3 separate regions of the Homo sapiens genome follow, and all the other regions are linked to region 3. Evidence: promoter capture Hi-C in 16 types of primary human blood cells and fetal thymus (Javierre and others, 2016). All regions are on one chromosome and are shown on one strand. The core of a region is centred on a gene start or on the middle of the fragment in contact, and the rest is flanking DNA. Distances in the headings are between cores, read along the strand shown. Region 1 overlaps LOC105375082 (a long non-coding RNA gene). Region 2 has its middle 48 kb from the start of CD2AP. Region 3 holds the start of OPN5 (opsin 5).

The links. Contacts are between HindIII fragments. The CHiCAGO score rates a contact against its expected background, and 5 or more counts as called.
Region 1: a contact is called between a fragment that was not itself captured here and the fragment with the promoter of OPN5 in region 3, in 3 of 17 cell types (non-activated CD4 T cells, activated CD4 T cells and total CD8 T cells). The highest score is 5.9, in non-activated CD4 T cells.
Region 2: a fragment that was not itself captured here is called in contact with the fragment with the promoter of OPN5 in region 3 in 1 of 17 cell types (naive CD4 T cells); the score reaches 5.1 in naive CD4 T cells.

The regions. Positions count from the first base shown.
Region 1 is chr6:47,389,233-47,391,960 of GRCh38, forward strand. All of the region lies in intron 2 of LOC105375082 (a long non-coding RNA gene), which reads right to left. Among named protein-coding and RNA genes, the nearest start is that of TNFRSF21, 81 kb to the left of the region's middle. The HindIII fragment of the contact is 1,799 bases long and covers 578-2,376 here.
Region 2 is chr6:47,428,910-47,431,609 of GRCh38, forward strand. No RefSeq gene overlaps it. Among named protein-coding and RNA genes, the nearest start is that of CD2AP, 48 kb to the right of the region's middle. The HindIII fragment of the contact is 934 bases long and covers 887-1,820 here.
Region 3 is chr6:47,780,584-47,783,283 of GRCh38, forward strand. OPN5 (opsin 5) reads left to right here and starts at 1,449. Exons shown (of 7, transcript NM_181744.4): 1 at 1,449-1,613. The coding sequence starts at 1,484. The HindIII fragment of the contact is 3,260 bases long and covers 1-1,616 here.

The DNA.
Region 1 (2,728 bases), core at 227-2,726, 390 kb before region 3:
CCTGCCATTTTGTTGCTTTATGGTTGTTTTTTTGCTCCTTTCTCCCTTCATTCCTTTATTCTTGTCCTTCTTGTTGCAAAGATGATTTTCTCTGGTGGTATGTTTTAATTTCTTGCTTTTTATTTTTTTGTGTATCTGTTGTAGGTTTTTAAATTTGAGGTTACCATGAGGCTTGCAAATAACATCTTATACCCCATTATTTTAAATTGATGGCAGCTTAACATATTGCATAAACAGACAAACTAGCAAACAAGCAAATAGAAAACTAATAAAAGTCTACATTTTAACAACATCCTTCCATTTTTAACTTTTTTGTTTTATGCTATGTCTTGAAAAGTTGTTGTAGTTATTATTTTTGATAGGTTCATCTTTTAGTCTTCTTACTCAAGATATGAGTCCTTTACAAACCACAATTACAGTGTTATCATATTCTGGATTTGTCTGTGTACTTACTATTGCCAGTGAGCTTTGTACCTTTAGATGATTTCTTACTGCTCATTAACATCCTTTCATTTCAGATTGAAGAACTCCTTTTAGCACTTCTTGTAGGACAGGTCTGATGGTGATGAAAATCCTAAGCTTTTGTTTGTCTGGGAAAGTCTTTATTTCTCCTCCATGTTTGAAGAATATTTTCACTGGATAAAAGCTCTAGGATCCTATAATAAAAGTTGTTTTCTTTCAGCACTTTAGTAAACATTGTTTTCTTTCAGCGTGTTAGTGTCATGCCACTCTCTCTCTTGGCCTGTAAGGTTTCCACTGAGAACTCTGCTGCCAGACATATTGGAGCTCCTTTGTATGTTATTTTCTTTTCTCTTGATGCTTTTAGGATCCTTTCTTTATTCTTGACCTTTGGGAATTTGATTATTAAATGTCTTGAAGTTGTCTTATTTGGATTAAATCTGCTTGGTGTTCTGCATTATTCTTGTACTTGAATACGGGTATCTTTTCCTTGGTTTCAAAATTTCTCTGTTATTATCCCTTTGAATTAACTTTGTACCCTGATATCTCTCTCTCTCTGTGTGTGTGTGTGTGTGTGTGTGTGTGTGTGCATGTGTGTGTGTGTGTGTCTGTCCTAAGGCCAATAACCGTTAGATTTGCCCTTTTGAGGCTATATTCTAAATCTTATAGGCATACTTCCTCCTTTTTCTTTTTCTTTTTTCTTTTCTTTTTTTTGAGATGGAGTTTCGCTCTTGTTGCCCAGGCTGGAGTGCAGTGGCACAAACTCAGCTCACTGAAACCTCTGCCTCCCTGGTTCAAGTGATTCTCCTGCCTCATGCTCCCAAGTAGCTGGGATTATGCCACCACACCCAGCTAATTTTTGGTATTTTTTTAGTAGAGAAGGGGTTTCTCCATGTTGGCCAGGCTGGTCTCAAACTCCTGACCTCGATGATCCACCCACCTCGGCCTCCCAAAGTGCTAGGATTACAGGTGTGAGCCACTGCACCTGGCCCACTTCTTTTTTACTCTGTTTATTCTTTTGCCTTTTCTCACTGTGTATTTTCAAATAGTCTGTCTTCAAGCTCACTAATTTTTTTTTCTGCTTGATTAATTCTGCTATTGAGAGACTCTGATGCATTCTTCAGTATATCAGTTGAATTTTTCAGCTCCAGAATTTCTGCTTGAGTTTTAAAAATTATTTCAATCTCTTTTTAAAATTTATCTGGAAAGGATTCTAAATTTCTTCTCTGTGTTGTCTTGATCTTTCATCGATCTGTTATTTCATTGACCTTCCTCAAAGTAGCTATTTTGAATTCTCTGTCTGAAACGCCAAAGATCTCTGCCTCTGCAGGATTGGTCTCTACTGCCATTTTTACTTTGTTTGGTGAGGTCATGCTTTCCTGGATGGTCTTGATGCTTGTGGATGTTCATCTGTATCTAGACATTGAAGAGGTAGATATTTATTGTAGTCTTCATGGTGTGGGCTTGTTTATACCCATCCTTCTTGAGAAGGCTTTCCAAGTATTGAAAGTGAATTGAGTATTGTGTTGTAAATCTTTGGTCACTGCAGCTTTATCTGCTTTAGGGGGCACCTCAAGCCCCTTAATGCAGACTCTTACAGACTCATATAGATATCACCTTATTGGTCTTGAGAAAGACCCAGGTGAATTCCCTGTATTATCAGGCAGTGTCTCTGTTCTCTTTCCTTATTCTCCCCCAAACAAAAGGAGTCTCTCCTCTATGCTATGCTGCCTGGAGTTGGGGAAGGTGTGACACAAGCACCCCTATAGCCACCACCACTGAGACTGTGCTTGGTCAGACCTGAAGCCAGAACAGTACTAGCAGTTGGCAAAGGCCTGTGGTAACCATTGCCTGGCTACTGCTGATGGTTGTTCAAGGCCCAAAAGTTCTTTAGTCAGCAGGTGGTAAATCCAACTAAGCTTGTGTCTTTCCCTTCAAAATAGCAGGTTCCCTTGTGACCCAGGGTGGGTCTAGAAATACTGTCCAGGAGCCAGAGCCTAGAGTCAGGAATGTTAGGAATCTACTAGGTGCTCTACTTTACTGTGGCTTAGCTGACATATATGTTGCAAGACAAAGTTCTTTTTAATCTTTTTTCTCCTTTCCTCAAGCAGAAGTCTCTCCCTGTAGCCACTGTAGCTCCACACTCATGGCAAGTATTGACTGGCTACCACAGCTGTTTATTCAAGGCCCAAGGGCTCTTCAGTTAGCAAGTGATAAATCTTGCCAGTCCTAGGACTCTCCCTTCAGGGCAATGGGTTCCCTTCTGGCC
Region 2 (2,700 bases), core at 104-2,603, 350 kb before region 3:
CAGTTGGGATGCCAGGAACAGTGTCATGAGGCTGCAGGGGGCAGCAGGGTCCTGGGCCTGGCCCAAGAAACCATTCTAGGGCTCTGGACCTGTGATGAAAGGGACTGAAATGCATTTCAGGACTTTTCCCCATTGTCTTGGCTATGAGCACTTGCCTTCCTTTTAGTTATGCAAATTTCTGTAGCCTGCTTGAATTCCTCCCCTGAAAATGGGTTTTTCTTTTCTACCACATGGCCAGGCTGCAAATTTTCCAAGTATTTTTGCTCTACTTCCTTTTTAAATATAAGTTCCAGTTTCAGGTCATTTATTTGCTTATGCATATAAGCATAGGTTGTTAGAAGCATCCAGGTCACATACTAAACACTTTGCTGCTTAGAAATATCTTCTTCCAGATATCCTAAATTGTCACTCTCAAGTTTAAATTTCCACAGATCCTTAGGGCAGGGCCACAATGTCTCCAAATTCTTTGCTAAAGCATAACAAAAGTGACCTTTGCTCCAGTCCCCAGTAAGTTCCTTATTTCCATCTGAGACCTCATCAACCTGGCCTTTATTTTCCAAATCACTATCAGCATTTCAGTCACAACCATTTAACCAGTCTCTAGGGAGTTCCAAATGTTCCCTGATCTTCCTGTCTTCTTGTGAGCCCTCCAGACTTTTCCAACCTCTGCCTGTTATGCAGTTCCAAAGTGGCTTCCACATTTTCAGGTATCTTTATAGCAATGCCCCATTCCTGCGTACCAATTTTCAGTATTAGTCCATTCTTGCACTGCTATAAAAAACCCCAGAAACTCTGTAATTTTTAAGAAAAAGAGATTTAATTGGCTCATAGTTCTGCTTCTGCTTCTGCTTCTGCTTCTGCTTCTGCTTCTGCAGGCTGTACAGGAAGCTTAACAGCTTCTGCTTCTGGGGAGGCCTCAGGAAACTTCCAATCATGGCAGAAGGTGAAGGAGAAGCAGGCACATCTTACATGGCTGGAGTGGGAGCAAGCAAGAAAACAAGCAAGCAGGAACAAGAAAAAAAGAGAGGGTGAGGGAGGTGTGACACACTTTTAGACAACCGGATCTTGTAAGAATTTACTCACCATACAATACCAAGGGGGAATGGTGCTAAATCATTCATGAGAACTCCACCCCCATGATCCAATCACCTCCCACCAAGCCCTACCTCCAACAATGGGGATTACAATTTGACCTGAGATTTGGATGAGGAAACAGACCCACACCATATCAGGGCATCTGATCTTCTGAGGACTGCTTTCAACCTCTTTGGAGAAGCCTCGTGCATCTTTGGTTAAGTCATAACCTTGATTAACACTTATTGATTTCACTTGGAAGGATATAGCTGGTTAAAAAAAAGTTCAAAAGCCACAAATATCAACTGTTTGTCCTGGCCAAAAAGTCATTATAAGAGATTTGAAAGAATTTTTTTTTTAAGAGCTCTCTGATTAGAAGTCAGCTTAATTAAAAGCCAATATCTAAGGTGGGAGAATTGCTTGCCTGGGAGTTCAAGGCTGCAGTGAGCTATGATCACACCACTGCATGCCAGCCTGGGGTACAGAGCAAGACCCTATCTCAAAAAAAAAATAAAAATAAAAATCAAGTTATCTCATTTATTTTTATTCCTCCCTACTTCTTCCTTTTTGTCATCTCCAATACCACATGGAAGGATCTAGAGAAGACTGCTGTATTAGTCTGTTCTCACATTGCTATAAAGAAATACCTAAGACTGGATAATTTATAAAGAAAGGTTTAATTGGCTCACAGTTCTGCAGGCTATACAAGCAGCATAGCAACATCTGTTTCTGGGGAGGCCTCAGGAAGCTTACAATCATGGCAGAAGGTGAAGGGGGAGCAGTCACACTGTTAGATATGAGTTCTCAATTTCTTTCCAAAGAATCAATATGTTAGTATGTTCAATTTTTTGCCTTCTACTTTTAAACTTAACTTCCTGTTAAAGCAACCTTTTTTGATTACCTGCTCCACCCTGACTCATTCCGATTACCTGCTCCACCCTGATTCATTCCTATTACCTACTCCACCCTGATACATTCCGATTACATGCTCTGTCATAACCATTTTTCCCACCAAACCACTCACCCCGTCACTCTCTTTAAATTAGCGGTCTAACCCTAGCCAATAGGGGAACGACACAGCAGCAGGGGCCACACATGCGTCAGGGATAAGAACCCCTTCCCCTCCCTTGTCCAAGTGTGCACTCACCATTGCTCCATCTGTAAGGGTGCACCCTTCTATAGAAGTAACTTGCCTTGCTGAGAATTGAAAGTAAAATTTTATATTCGAGTGCTATTTCTTTTGCGGCACCAAAAGTTTATTTATAACAACACCACGTGGTGAAAGCAGTACCAAGAGAGAGGGGAGGTGCCACACACTTTTTAATGACCAGATTTTATGAGAATTCACTCATTGCCACAAGGAGAGCACCCAAAGGATGGTGCTATACCATTCATGAGAAACGCCCTCGTGATCCAATCACCTCCCACCAGGCTCCATCTCCAACACTGGCAATTGCATTTCAACATGAGATTTGGGCTAGGCACACATCCAAACTATGTCAACTCCTAATGACTCAGACCCCTCAAGGAACTCAGAAAAAGGCACAATTCATCCCCTTTTTAGGGGTCTTCTGCTTTTCTTCCTAAATTTCAAGAGTTACAGGCAAGTTCCGCCGAGATCTAAAA
Region 3 (2,700 bases), core at 199-2,698:
ATAAACTTTCACCTGGGGTAGGTCTTGGGATGTGGTGCATCTGGCAGCCAAAGATTTCTCCTACAGCTTTCTAACCATCTCAGGGAGAAGGATTTGGAATGAACATTAGCACATGACTGTCCTCAAACTGTGTGTAGGAGACTGTAGTTTCAGCCAACTGGCCACTGAAAGGGTCACTAGCCTTCCTCTGTAAGCTGTAAGTTGGCAGTTAGAAAGGGGTTAAATTCATGTCTTTTGCGAAGGTGAATTACATGGTTAGATATGTGCCGATCACCCTGTCACCGCCTGTGGGGCACACAACTCTGTGTTCCACTTGCTGTCTCATATAATGCCCGAAATTGTTGCCTAGAGAGCTGAACAGTGACATCTGTTGGTTCGATTTGAAATAGGCAAGTTCAAAAGAGAAACAGCCACACTAGTATTTCTTCCCCTTTCAAAACAAATAGGAACAATCATGACAAAGGAATGACCCTTCCAAAGGAAGTTTTAACATCAGCAGCATACTTTATCTGAAGAACAACACACGACTCCAAGTTTCAGGATGAGGGATATCATGTGACTTTTATTTTTGCAGAAAGCCCATCAAAGACTTTGTGTAAACCTTTTAAAACTCCAATTCAAAAGAAACAGTACTAAGACCTGTGTATCTGAGAAATTCCTCAATGCTCAAGATTTCATCCAGAAGCATAAATGAGCAAATAGAAAGTATGGATTTGGGGCAGTGGTGAGAAATAATGAAATTGCTTTCTGCTCTAGGAAACTTGAGAAACAAACCTTCCTGTGGATGTGCCTGTGAGTTACAACCCAGCTTGAATCCTTTCTAAATAGCTCCAAATTTCAAGATCACTTTGACAATCACCTAGCTCTTAGCTTCAATTAATTAAGTGTCCATGTTCCTTTGTACTGAATGCTCTATTTCTTTCCTTACAAAACTCTAAACCTCATTGAATGTACAATGGAAATGATTTTCTGGGAAATCTGGATAATCAAAAAATACTATATTCTGACAAGTTATATATATACATATGTAAATTTTTTATATATTATATATAATTTATATACATAAATTATATATATATAGTGTGTGTGTGTGTATGTGTGCACACTCCATACAATATCATTTCCTGCTCAGACCTTTACAAAAATTGCTAAGAAACAGTAAATTGCACAGTTTGGCCTTCAACCTTTTAATCACCCCAAGGAGAAAAGAAGTGGCTCAAAGAGTAGCATGAGAAAACAGAGGAGAAAATGAAGGCTTGGATAATCTGCCAACCGAATAACTGAGTAATGACATAATTGGATCATTGAAAAAAATGTTAAAATTTTTACCAGTTATTAATTAGAGAATCATGCATGACCCTGGGAACTTGCTTTTTGTTTTAAAACAGGAGCCACGATTATGAAATGGTTCAAGCTGGCTTATTCAGGTCTGCTGAGATCTCTACTGGTTTGCTTTTCAGATCCCTCGTGGTTCGAGAACAGAATGGCGTTAAATCACACTGCCCTGCCTCAGGACGAGCGCCTGCCCCATTACCTTCGAGATGGGGATCCTTTTGCTTCCAAACTTTCTTGGGAAGCGGATTTAGTGGCTGGCTTTTACCTAACAATAATTGGTAAGCTTCCTTAATTCTTCTGTGCAAAGGCTGCATTTAGAAAATTCATGGGCTGATATGTTAATTTTGTGAAAGGATTCTGATACTTAAGTGGATAGTTTAGTGGAGGCGAAGAGTGGGGAAAGGCAGAAGATGGAATGGCATTATGGCATTCAATAAATGTTTCCTAGAAATGACTCTTTATTATCATTATTATTAGGAATAAAATTCCATTGATAATCCAAGAACTCTTACAGCAAAATTATTTATCCATTTCATTTTGGTTACTTTGGGAGTAGATTTACTTTCTGAATACCAAAATTAATGATAATGATATTTTATTTAAACAGAGTGCTTTTTAAATAATGTTTTTGACATAATCATAAGTTTTAGGTTGAGAATGGGCCTTAAAAATAATCTAGGTCAGTCTCCTGTTCTCACAACTGTGCAAAACTCAATTGTGCTATTGTGCTATAGTACTATAGTAATGGCAGAAACACTGAGTTTACTTCACCTAAAAGTAAAGTCGCATCAAAATAGCTAAGCCATTTTGGTGACAGTTGAAAAATGTGTTGGTGATAAATGGAAGAAAGTCCGGGGTCAAAAGATTTTTGTGCATAATTGACGAAAGGGTGCACCTGCTTCTAGACTGCATGATCTCATTCATTCAGTAGCCACATGTGGCTTTTCCAAATTGAAAGTTGCTGTAGTGTAAATACTCACCAGATACTGAAGGCTCAGTACAACAAAAAGTGGTATAAAATATCTCATTAATAATTTTTAAAAATTAAATACATGTTGAACATACAACATTTTAGGTATGTTAAGCTAAATAAAATATATTATTAAAATTAATTTACTGTAAATTTTAAATTTATAAATTAAATTTTTACTTTGTAAATTTTTACTTTGTTTAATGTGGCTACCAGAAAATTTTAGAATCCATATGTGGCTCGCATTTCTGGCTTACATTACATTTATACTGGATAGCACTAATCTAGACAGTTAGGATTTAATTTAACCACCTATTTAAATTTAAGAAAAGAAACCATACTTTTCTTAAATTTAAAATTGTTGTTTTAACTTTGGGTGACCAGTGTGAAGGTGG